3 separate regions of the Homo sapiens genome follow, and regions 1 and 2 are each linked to region 3. The links are contacts of gene promoters, found by promoter capture Hi-C in blood cells and fetal thymus (Javierre and others, 2016). All regions are on one chromosome and are shown on one strand. The core of a region is centred on a gene start or on the middle of the fragment in contact, and the rest is flanking DNA. Distances in the headings are between cores, read along the strand shown.

The links. The method cuts DNA at HindIII sites, captures the fragments that hold promoters and counts their contacts. A CHiCAGO score of 5 or more calls a contact.
Region 1: a fragment that was not itself captured here is called in contact with the fragment with the promoter of MRPS9 in region 3 in 2 of 17 cell types (total B cells and naive B cells); the score reaches 6.1 in total B cells.
Region 2: a contact is called between a fragment that was not itself captured here and the fragment with the promoter of MRPS9 in region 3, in 2 of 17 cell types (total B cells and naive B cells). The highest score is 6.3, in total B cells.

The regions. Positions count from the first base shown.
Region 1 is chr2:104,864,182-104,868,493 of GRCh38, forward strand. It overlaps LOC124908045, which reads right to left and starts at 3,020. Exons shown (of 2, transcript XM_047446880.1): 1 at 2,247-3,020; 2 at 1-1,434. The coding sequence starts at 190. It overlaps LINC01159 (long intergenic non-protein coding RNA 1159), which reads right to left. Exons shown (of 2, transcript NR_110373.1): 2 at 1,316-4,211. It also overlaps a transcript of POU3F3 not described here. RefSeq lists a silencer at 3,370-3,664. The HindIII fragment of the contact is 270 bases long and covers 2,315-2,584 here.
Region 2 is chr2:105,235,236-105,239,401 of GRCh38, forward strand. No RefSeq gene overlaps it. Among named protein-coding and RNA genes, the nearest start is that of GPR45, 4.4 kb to the right of the region's middle. The HindIII fragment of the contact is 7,123 bases long and covers 1-4,166 here.
Region 3 is chr2:105,036,417-105,040,158 of GRCh38, forward strand. MRPS9 (mitochondrial ribosomal protein S9) reads left to right here and starts at 1,653. Exons shown (of 11, transcript NM_182640.3): 1 at 1,653-1,811. The coding sequence starts at 1,677. MRPS9-AS2 (MRPS9 antisense RNA 2) reads right to left here and starts at 2,080. Exons shown (of 3, transcript NR_110603.1): 1 at 2,038-2,080. RefSeq lists enhancers at 1,060-1,269, 1,290-1,339, 1,390-1,439, 1,610-1,939, 1,693-2,635. The HindIII fragment of the contact is 6,591 bases long and covers 1-3,742 here.

The sequences.
Region 1 (4,312 bases), core at 1,200-3,699, 170 kb before region 3:
CAGCAGGGCAAGGCAGGGACTGTGCCCAGTCCGCCCGCCAAGGAGATCGCACGCCGGCTTCGCTTCTGAAGCTGCAGACGGAGGCCGTGGTGAGCCTTAGAAAGATCCCGGGACAAAGGCGAAACCCCAGATTAATCCCCATAAGATTCCTAGGAGCCATTCCCCCTTCCCCCCGCACTTTGGCAAACATGAGAACTTTAGAGGTGCCGCGTCCCCAAGTCAGCCTGGACGCTTAAACCCCACAACTGACTCCATGTAACCCGATTTCTTTCTAGTGAGTACCAAGAAACAGTGGAACTGAAACCATAAGTGGAAATATTTGCTGTATTATAACATGCTCAGAGGCATTAGAGTTGGTTTTTTTTCCAGTAAAACATACATAATAAACAGGGAGCCATTTATTTACAAATACAAATGTCCTAGACAAGCCACATTCCATGTATGTAATTCATTAATGGAATTTGTTCATTTTTCTTCCTTTGGAAACAGAATTTTTGCTTTAAAAAATGGCTTGGTCTTGGGGAGGAGGTGGGTGGGAGAGTAGTTTACCTGATCTTTGAAAAGGGAGAAGTGTCCAGCCAATTCCTGTTTCGAAAGAATGCTAAACAATATAAAATAACCTTTTAAAATAGATGGAGAGGCTTTTGTTTTCTTTTTTACTCTTCAGAAAAGAAGTTTGTTAGTTGTAGTTGCTGTCACAGAATTGCCCAGTGGAAATGGACTGTTAATATCACCCTAGTTGACACGTGCGTGTGTGTCTGTGTGCGCGCACATGCGTGTGAACAAAATTGCATTTTAAATGTCTTAAGCTGGATGGGAATCTACCAAAATTGTATCTGTAAAATATACTCAATTGCCACAGTTTTAGAAATGTCTGTGGAAATGTCCCCACCGGCCTGCCTCCTTCCTGAGAGTTTATATCTAGGTAGAGTGTTAGGTGATGACTTCCTAGTCACCGGTATGCCAGGATTAGTTACCTGGCGAAACTGAGTCTGGTCTTTAATTCAAGAAGTTTTCTCTAAGTGAATCTCCTTTCCCTATAAGTTGATAGAGGGGTGTTGTTTGAGGGAGAGTTGTCCAGAGGAAGGTGGAATCAAGTGTGAATCATCTGTGTGACCCAGTGAGCAGTGAATAAATATGAAAAGTGCAGAATACACCTGAGGTATGTCTGGAGCTTTGTAAGGTCCTAACACTAGACATGATTACATAGGACAAAAAGAATGATCACTGCTGCCCATGTTTCTTTATTGTAGCTACAAAATAATGGAATGGACATTGAGATGGAAGCAAAAACTTTTTAAATTTTTTTTCTTTTAAAGAAAAGGGACAAGAGGTGTTCTGATGAGCTTCCTGGGAGACCACACATTAGCTCTGTCCTGCAGGACTGCCTCTCCGCATAAGGCAAGCCCATTAAGTCGGCTGGAACATTGCACACTGAAATAGAATAGATGTTCATTTCAAAGAATTTTCCTTGAGCCAGCAATAAAATAAAAGGTGACAAAACCCACCACGCTCATTGTACCCAGGTTTAGACAGGGAAACTTCCAGGTGTGAGGGGGGCTAGCCAGATTTGTTCCTTTCTGCCCCTATCAAGGTCTCAGAAGGAGGGTGAGTCTGTGTTTCACTTACATTTCCAAGGTTGAAAACTCTCCTGCAGAGTTAAAAATAAATTAAATAGGTCTAATCAGAAAGCACAGTATCACCCAGAAACTAACCAAATGAAATGTCTTAGTAGCTTGGTCTTGAGAATCTTTAGGTGACAATGGTGAAAAAGCCATCACAGAACAAAACAACATCTACAAACTATTTTAAATTACCATTTCATGGGGAGAAATCTTTCAAATTTCAAAATCGCTCAGGCAAGTCTACTGATTCTACTTTGTACGCCTTAAAGACTTATGCCAAGCACAGCTTTAAAAACGTTTCACTCCTGAAAGAAGGTCTTTAACTCTTCCAATAACTATTTAATAGTTGTCCTGAATGTTTTTAACAAGAGACGGGTATTAAGTGAGTGGCCTTGAGTCCCAAGCAGTCTGGGGGAATAGAAGTGGTGGACACTCAAAGGCACGGAGCAGCCTGCACCTGAAACGGGCTTTCTGCTTTTCGGTGAGGAGGGGCGGCCGAGGTCAGCAGTATTTACATATGTACCTGATCCCACGGGCTTTCCTCTATTTATCAAAGAGGAGGGCCTGCAGGTGAAGGGGTGGAAGTGAGGGGAGAGAAAGACCAAAAGAGAGATCAGTTACCTTTCCCCTTTGTTCCTGGGCCTTGAACTGGGGCTTCAAGGAGGGGAATAAAAGCCCCCAGGGAATGAAGCTTCCACCTCCATTTGCATCATCCTGACACCCCCGCCAGAAAACCAAGTGCTGGCTGAGTTGGGGCAAAATGGTAACTTGAGGAATCCCAGTGTGAGTGTGTTACATAACATACAGAATCCTCTGTGGGGAGAAGTGCACTCACTTGATTTTCTCCAAATGACTGTGTGCAGGCGGAAAGCCCTAGAAAGGAGGATTGAAGACCAGTTAAATAGGAAGACTGTGGGGAAATGGGGAAACGTGTAGCCATATATGACAGGGCACATGTAAGCTTGTGTGCAGGTAAAGTCATACCTGCACCATCTGTGTGCCAGAGCATCCTTCAGAGATCCTGCCTAGAGCTGCACGTTGGCTAAGCAGGAGTCCATACTTTACAATGGTGGTATGGTGGGGGCAGTGGTACCCAAGACTACTGGGACCTGGCTGCCCTGTGGGGTAGTAGGAGCCAGGTTAGTTCACAACTGTGTCATCCTCAACCAGCTCTTTTTTGTCAGAACCCTCAAATCCTTAGCCTGGGTGGGCAGATTACCCCCTCCTCTGTGCGCCCTGCTGTGCCCACCGCAGTCGCCCTGCGGTGGCAGGAGAGCTACTCATTCAGCAGTAGCAGCATTGCGCCGCTGCAGCATCCCGAGGTCACATTCAGAAAGCCCGTTCTTCCAGGACAGCATCGCCCCAATACTGCAGGCGGGGCGAACCGTGTTTATCTGCCCCAGGCACGGAGGGGAGATTGTAACCAAAGGAAAAGAATCTCGCAGAAGGGGATCTGGAAGAGGGCAGTTGATCCTGGGCAGATCCCCTGCGCCGGGCCCTCTCCGCTGGGGGCGAGCCCGGAGGGAACCGAGGGGCCCGGGAGGGGGAGCTGCTGAAGGCGCGCAGGCTGACAAAGCTATAACAAAGGCTCCCTACAAAACTAGTACTAAGGATCTTTAAAGGATCACACACCTTGCAGGCGTGTCCCCAGCTCCCGGGACGCAGAGCCCGCTGACTGTTCCCCCGGGCTCCGCAGACGTGCCCGGGTTGTCAGAGGTGTGGGGCTGGAAGTCCAGCGTCTCGGCCTCTGCCCCTGCGCTCCCACAGGCCTGAGCGGGTAGGGGTAGGTGCCCGCGCCTGGGCCCGCGGGGCTTTGGTCATGGCTGTTCCCCGGGAGGCTCAGTTAGGCAGCAGCCTTGCTGGGCAACAGGCCCCGCCCTTGGTTAATCCGGGAAGGTCGCGGGCTGCAATCTGGCCTGACGAGGCAGGCCCTGAAGTCTCCCCGCTGGGCGATCAGAAGAGCGTTCGAGAAGCCGGGAGCTGGTGGGGTTGGCAGGGCGTCTGAGTCACCCGAGCTGCAGAACGGACGCCCCCACGACGCGCTGTGGGCACTCACAGCGGCTAGTTGGGCATTTCCCAGCAGCCAAGGCTGCGCACTCCGCCCCCGCTGAGGTCCCCTTTGGTTCCCGAGGACCCAGCTCCTCCCGCCCCTCTACTCGGCGCCCCCTGCCACCATAGAACTCTGGGGTAACCCTGGGCCCCGACCTCCAGCTGGTGGGTAGGAATTGTTGGGAAAGGATTGGCGCCCCAGCACCGGGAGACTGGAAGAGTTGAAATCAACGCAGGAGAACAATTAGGAAAAAGTAAGAAAAAAATCACCCGGATGACCTCCAACTTCACCCCCACACCCCCATGGGGTTCTGAAGGCTCCGGCGCAGCTCCTACAGGCGTCTAGGAGTTGGTGGGAGAGGCGCTGCTCTGGCACCTCGCGGTCTCAGGAGTGGGGCTCAGCGCAGAGCGGGCGGCAGTGAGGAGCTCAGGGCCCGAGTTCAGGGCTAGGAGCAGGTGCAAGAACAGTGCAGCAGTGCAAGCATCAGGCAGCAGTGTTTCTCCTCCGCCGACAAAGTGGGTGGTGAGAACACAACTCTGGGAAAGGGGTAGGCGTGGATGTAAAATATAGTCAGTGACTGTTCCCCTACTTCTTGGTGTCCCCTTTCTTGAACTCAACTCAGGAGAAGCTCAGAAGC
Region 2 (4,166 bases), core at 1,439-3,938, 200 kb after region 3:
TCACAGCCACCCTGCATCTCCCATGGATCTGGCGTTAAATCCTACACTCTTGACAGCCAGCAGATTTTACATTTGAGGAGACAAATAGATCTCATCCACATTTGCTTGAGAAGCATCTGCAAAAGCTCCCGCATCAGATGCACACACGGTCCTACAGGCCCAAGGGCATCCTGTGTCCTGAGTGCCTGCCAAGACACCCGTAGCCCTGTGACAGTCCCACACACACGCCCTGCACCCACGGCCTTCACATCTTACCTTTCCTGCTGAAAGACATCCTTCCTGTGGCTCCCAATGCTGACTCATTCCTGATATAAAAGTCTGATAGGAACTGCTAGTTACATCATTATCTGAGTGGCCTCTCTCTGCATAGCCTAGGGGTTAAGGCATGGGCCCTGGAGTCAGACTGTCTGATTCTAATGCAGGGCCCTACTACTATACTTTCTAGGTAAATAACTGTGCATCCAGTTCTTCATCTGTAAAGAGGAGTCAATGTGAGGGTTAATTGAGAGAAACCATGTCAGTAGTTCCTACAACTGAGAACGTTTACCCTGGATGACTTATTAAAATGCAGTTTGCGCCCCCTGGCGTCCCAGGGTTTCTAATTCAGTGGGTCTGGAGTGGCCCTGAGAATTTTCCTTTCTCAAGTTCCTAGGCGATGCGGATGCCGAAGACGCAGGGGCCGAGCTTCCTGACCACTGAGCTATGTAAGGGGCTTAGCCTGGCATGCTATCAGCACACGAGAAATGTTAGCCATTACTAAGAAGAATAGGCAATGAAGATTTGCCTCATTAAAAGACTTCCCAGTTGTGTTCTACTTGAAAATTTCTCCCCAAGAATCTTGTTCAAGTCGAGGAATAAAAAATCTGGTTCCTTTCAGCTCACTTTTCTTTGAAGTTAAGACACGTGGCACGACACCTGTTTCTAAACACAGCTACTTGATGTATTACTTTTGGCAGCTCTTGCATATTTTTTCATCGCCAATAAAGTTATTGAAATTGAAATATACCATCTGTTTGAGAGTTTGTATCAAAAAGACAGGTGACAAGGTTGCAGGTAATGACAGAGTCAAGCTGTTCCCACAGCAAAGGGCTGTTCCTAGCTTCCCCGTCTGCCAAAATTGACTTCATTTCTTAGATTTGACATTTTTGAACCAATATGTTCTTCTGGAGCAGGGATTAAAAATCCAATATCACAAAACCAATTGGTTTTACCTGCAGCAATATTAAAGACTATGGAGAAAGAGCCCAACAAATTTCCCACCATTTGGCTGAAATAGAACCAGCAGAGAGAAAGCAAATTCTATCAGATGTACATATATATGTAAATGCATATATATATATATAATTCAAAATCTGATAATTAAAATGTAGATGTACCTGTGTGTAGTGTGTACCTGACTTTTTTCTTAATGTTTGTGAAAAACAGTTCCAAAAGAACTGCGCCTACTCCCACTGCGCATATGAGCGCTTCCTTCGCGGATCAGGGGTTGGCAGCCTTACACCAGGAACGCACCTGGGCGCAGCCTCGATCCCACAGGGTCCAGGTGCAGAGGCACCGGGATGCACGCAACACCTTTCGACGCAGAGCTGGGGAAGGGGCCAATAGGAATGGATGCTCCGACAGACGAAGCCACGTGGGAACAAGGACGAGCCCAGGGCAGCTTTTGCTGGAGGTACAGGGGCAGTGTCACAGGGGGCAAGTGGAGTTGCTGGGGAGGATACGATAGCATGTGGGATTTGAAGGTGGGGAAGATTCCGTTATTTTCCTGAACACCTAACAGTGATGCTGCAGGCTTTCTGGACGGGACGGGACCTCAGACACAATAATCCATTCCGCCGTCGCCACGCAGTGCCTTTCGACCATTCAGTTTCAGCGCTGGGAGGAAGGAGAGGCGTGCGCTCTTGCTGAAGGTCGCGCGGGGCTCACCGACCGGTTGCCAGGAAGTCTACCTCCTCCACGTGGCAATCGCCGCTGCTGCTCGGCTCCCTGCCACGGGGCTGCCCCGACTGTGCCTCCGCAGGTCTCTCTGGTTCTGCCCGCCTTTGTCCCCTCGCAAGGCATTATCCCTCCCCGCTTCAATCAGGGTCCGGCGGATCGTCTTCACGCCTGATCTTGAGGATGGGAAAGGGAGACAGGATCGTCTTCACGCCTGATCTTGAGGATGGGAAAGGGAGACAGGCATTTCTTACCTTCTCCTTCCTGACCACTTAAAGCCAAACATATTCCCAGCCGAAGATGAGAGTTGCTACCTGAAACGCCAAGTTTGCGAGCAGAAGGCCACTCGAATCCCCGCTTGACCAGGCCTTAGGAGGACGGTAGAGTCCTGGAGAGCTGCCCTGGCGCCGCTGCAGGGACCTCCGCTGTGTCCCCCAGTCCCTCAAAGCTCTCCTGGGCCGCATTTTCCCCTCTCATGTCTGTCTCACGAGGCCACTCACAGCCTGGCCTCCTCTCCCCAAGAAAACCTGGCAGGATCTCCCTACTGCACTGGAAACAAAAGCCTGGACGGGAGGTGTATGTGGACCAGGAAGTGCCAGCTTAAATGGAAGGAAACGGAGGGAACACAGCTCAAAAGCGTAGCCAAGTGGTGCTTTGCTATACTATGTTATCTCTTTTTGCATGTTTGAAATTTAACATAATAAAAAGACTTTTAAAGTTGGCAAAAGAAAAAGGGGAAGAGAACAAAGAAAGATAAAAGAAAGAAATGAGAGAGAAAAAGAAGGAAGGAAAAAAGAGAGAAGTAAGGAAGGAAAAAAGGAAGGAAGGAAGGAAGGAAGGGAGGGAGGCAGGAATGGAGGGAGGGAGGCAGGAAGGGAGGGAGGGAGGGAGGAAGAAAGGCTTTGGCAGGCCAGACACTGATACTTCCTAGCCTCCCGAGGCTGCCCCAGCGCGCCCCCTGGTGGTCGCACATAGAGTTGTCCTATTTGGAGAGCAAAGACAAAGGTTCTTTCCCTCATCCTCACTAAGTTCTTTTTTTTTTTTTTTTTTTTTTTTTTTTTTTTTTTTTGAGACGGAGTCTCGCTCCGTCGCCCAGGCTGGAGTGCGGTGGCGCGATCTCGGCTCACTGCAAGCTCCGCCTCCCAGGTTCACGCCATTCTCCTGCCTCAGCCTCCCGAGTAGCTGGGACTACAGGCGCCGGCCACCACGGCTGGCTAATTTTTTGTATTTTTAGTACAGGCGGGGTTTCACCATGTTAGCCAGGATGGTCTCGATCTCCTGACCTCGTGATCCGCCTGCCTCGGCCTCCCAACATGTTGGGATTACAGGCGTGAGCCACCGCGCCCCGCTGAAGGTCAGTTTTTAGAAGCCCATTCTTTATCTACTGGGAAAGGAGAACAGAGTGGGATTTTGTTTGAAATTTGTCTGTACCTCAACTGGTGTAGCTTGGGGGTGGGAGGATGGTTTTTCTTTTCCCTATGCTTGTCAGTGTCACAGACGTGAAGTCATCCTCCCCAAGCCACCGTCCTCACCACAGAACCATCTTTCTGTTGGAGTCTCAGCTTCCAGTCTCGGCTCCACTGGTCACTACTTTGCTGAACTGGGGCTTGTCGTGACTGTATCTGAGCTTCCCTTTCATAATTTCCCTGCCTTCTTGCCAGGCGTGAGGATGCAGAGGGAAGGCTTTAGAAAACCTTGCAGTAAACACAATGCATGGGTGGCCTCGTGTCCGCTTTGCTGAAAGCGCCTTCTATCTTTTGCGTGGACACAGCTCACTGAAGCCTCTGCCAGAGCACAGCTAGCCACACCATGGCACACAGCAGCACACAGCCTGGTCACACTTTCCTTAGTTGATTAATCACACTTCAGTCAGAGATGAAGATTTACCTCCTGACACTTGCACAGCCTCCCAGTTCCAGGGTGAGATCATTTGGAAAGGAACTAAAACAAATACCTTGAAACGGTTCAGTTCCCAGCTCGCTTCTTTCACAGCTTTAAATTCATATTGTGGCACCCATTTCTCATCGTGAAAGTCGCTGGAGACGGTGAGTGCTGTTACTCCAAGAACACCAGCAGAATATTTCTTGTTCACTTGTTACCTTTTACTTAGATCTTAGTGCCCTAGTCCCTTGTAATAAAAGCACTGTTGATTCAGATATTAACAACAGGACTGTGACCAAAATGCTAAATTAAAATACCTAAGACAGGTTGTTGTCCAGAAGCCAAAAGAA
Region 3 (3,742 bases), core at 403-2,902:
GTCCTCAGCAGGTCCTGAGAATTTGTGCCCAAGGTGGTCAGGGCGCAACTTGATTTTATACATTTTAGGGAGGCATGAGACATCAATCAAACACATTTAAGAAATACATTGGTTTGGTCCAGAAAGACCTGGGACTGATAGAAAGGGAATGTTCAGTTTAAGATAAAGATTGTGGAGACCAAAGTTCTCTGTAAGTCTTACAGTGGCTGCCCTTAGAGACAATGGATGACAAATGTTTCCTATTCAGATCTTAGTTAATCTCTTTAGGATTGGGAGGGTCTGGAAGAAAAAGATCTAGCTATGTTAATACAGATTCTTTACAGATGCATATCCCACCCCTCCAAGGACAGCTTTGCAGGGCCATTTCAAGATATGGCAAAGAAACATGTTTTGGGGTAAAATATTTTGATTTTCTTCCTTGTCTTGTAATGTTATGCCAGAGTCAGGTTGGAAAGTAAGTCACCATATATAGGGTTAAGTAAAACCCATCTAATAAGAATTTATGATTTGTAGGGCATGACTCCCCAAATCCTGTAGATAGGAATCTTGGGCAAGATAAAAAAATCAGAGTTTAGTCCTCCGACCTCTGCCAATTTCTCAAGATATCTTTTGCTAGTCTAAAAGCTAATAACAAAAAGAACAACAGGATGAGCATTTTATACAAGTAAATGTATTCCATTTAAAAGATTTTTCTTTATTGTGAAATTCTGCCATTCTACCTTTTTAATGCTAAAAAGTTCTGTTTCGTGAAATGATGGTGATAGTAGACGGCATTTATTTGCTTGACAACTTTGTATGATCTCAGATTTTCTGTGTGTTTTACTTTTACTGACCCTTCAAATCTAAGTGTGTGTAAACCCTTTTAAAGTGCGTTACTACATCATTTAGTATGTGTTTCGTAGAAAGCAACCTGGGAGTTAACTGCCAGGAGCACGCAAGTTTCAGAAAGCAAGACATACTCATCTCTATTCAACAATTAATCAGTTCTGATTGGGTTTCAAGTAAGGCTTAGTACCAACGCTTAGGGAGGGGCGTGCAAAAACGAGAAAGGTAGTGTTTGACCTTACCGGTTTAAGGTTTATCCTGTGCATTATACAGTTAAGAAACAACGCAGGAGAGTGCCAGGGAACCGAGAGGGGCTTGACAGTTGCTGCAGGAGAGTCTTGACTTGGAACCAGACGAACGTGGAAAGTTAGAGGAGGGGAAAACCCCTACTAGGATAAGGCAGACAGGAATCAAGGCTTGGAGCGCATCTGGGGCCCCGGCCGCCCTGCCCAGGTGGAGGAAGAGCCGGCTCGAGGTGCAGCAAGGGGGCTGGGAAGGAAGGGCTGGCTAAAGCGCCACGTGGATGTGAGTGCCAAAGAGACTAGGAGAGCGTGGAAGTGAGTCCCGAAGAGACTGAGTTCAGGACGTGAAGAGAAAGAGGCCGAGAAAAACGACCCACCAGCGATCCTTCTTGAGGTCGACACCGAGCAGGGGTGGAGTCGGATACGCCCCGCGGACACCATGCACCCAATCAGCGACGAGCTGTCGCGGATCGCGGGACACGCCCCCTGATCCAAAGGCCCGAGAAGCTCTTGCACAGGACAGCCTCTGGAACCCCGCGCCATTAGCGCCTGCGCCGTCTCTAGGCCCCGCCCCCTCACCCCTCCGGTCCTGGAGCTCCCACAGCTAACATGGCGGCGCCCTGTGTGTCCTACGGCGGAGCAGTTTCGTACCGGCTTCTTCTCTGGGGTAGGGGTAGCCTCGCCCGGAAGCAAGGCCTCTGGAAAACCGCGGCCCCTGAGTTGCAAACAAATGTCAGATCCCAGGTAAGGCCTGGGAAGACTGGAAGCGGCTTACCTCTGCCGCGCGAGGATGTGGAGCCAGCGCGGACACCTTCCCCCAGCGTCTCGCGTGCCTTCAGGCAGGGACTCTAGGATCTTAGGTATTTAGTGGAGGTCTGAGGTTGGGGGGGAGGAGGTGGGTATTGGCGTGCAGTAGCCGCTCTAGAGGTTGTTACTTGTTTTTTTGCGGGGTGCAGCGAGGGGAACTTACCTGAAGGTAGAAGTGGAGCGACCTCCTCCTTCATTTGGCTGCTGAGCTAAGTAAGGGTCGGTGCCTAGGTCTGTGTTGGGTCCAGTCCTACCCTGCCCTGCTGTCTAGGGAGGAGGAGGGCCGCGCCAGAGAAGAATGATGGGAATTGGATTCCTGCAGGTGCCTGGAAGACAATGGAGAAAGTCACGTTGTGTAGAGGACAGTGACTTTTTGAAAGTGCCTTCAATATGCGCAATTTCTGGCTTCTTAATTTTCCCGAATCCCCCTCTATGGAAAGATGCAGGCCAGAACTTGTACGTTTCGTTTAATCCAGGGAGAAGTGGGGAGTCAACAGCTGGATGGCTGATGATGCCAGTTTACTGACATGCGATCTCAGAGCAGGAAAAAGATTTGAGAGGGAAGAAACGAGTTTAGTATGGGATTATGTTTTTAGGCATCTGGGATTTCCAGTAGGTCTACGGATAGTCAAGTGTATAGCTCAGGAGGAGAACTGATTTCGAAATGCCCTGTTACCTTGTAAATGGTAACTGAGGCCTTGTAAACAAATTAAATTACCTAGGGAGAGTGTACTGAGGAGTAGGCAGAGGGACAGGGCCCTGAAGGACAAATAAGAAATAAGAGGCCTCAAGAGATTGAGAATGAGGGACCAAAGAAGCAGGAGAGAAACCAGCCAGTGTGGTGTCATGGAAAACAGGTGAATGTTTCAAGGAGGGAGAGTGATAACAAGTACCAATTATTGCAGGAAAGTCAAATACCATACTTTAAAAACTATATTTAAAAAAAAAAACATCTTTTTGTATGTTCTTTCCTTTATATTTTAATCTAGATCAACCAGTCCATTCTATCTATTCATGTGGACATTTGTTTTTTTTTTTTTTCTTACTGGAAAATGTGCTAGAAATTTTTATTTTTTCATGCATCTCTTTGAGTATATCTTTGCTACATACGCATGATTATGAGAGGGACTATATCATACAGAGTATTTTTATTGTTGACATTTAATGTATGTATTGGGGGATGGCTAACTTTCTGTCCCTCCTGGTATCTATTCTTCTATGTTTTTTCCATGTTCTTATAATCATGCATAAACATACATGCACAGGTGTACTTTACAAAAAATGGTACCATATTTGATTGCATTTTACTTTCTGCTTTTCTCTTGTACATATGCAGTATATTGTAAAGTAGAAATCCTTCAGGGTCCCCTATTATGTTTTTAAAAGCATTTTTAACTGCTGCATACTATTCCATGATAAGAATATATCAAAGTTAATGTAACAATTGATGGACATTTGCTTTGTTTCTACTTTCTTTGCACTAATAAAGTTTCAGTAAACATCTGGTCTAGTTCTTAAGTACTGGTTTAGTAAAATGGATGAAGAATGATTTCTCCTGTTACTTTAATTTTCATCTCCTTGACCATTCTTGAAACAACCTCTTTCCCCCATATGGCAAATGTTTACTGAGCACTTTACCTGAGCCAGGCACTGTGAAGTAAACAATTTAAAGTCAAACAATTACAAGATAGTATCCACCCTTAGCACTCTTAAGGGATGGTCCTGAAATGGCTGAATCCCCAGATTCCTGAATACTACTACAGCATATATTTTACCACATTAAGTACAGCTCAGATATAACTGAAACACTTAGCTGACCCCCCTTTAGATTCTTATGATTGCATACATATACCTAAAGACATTGATAA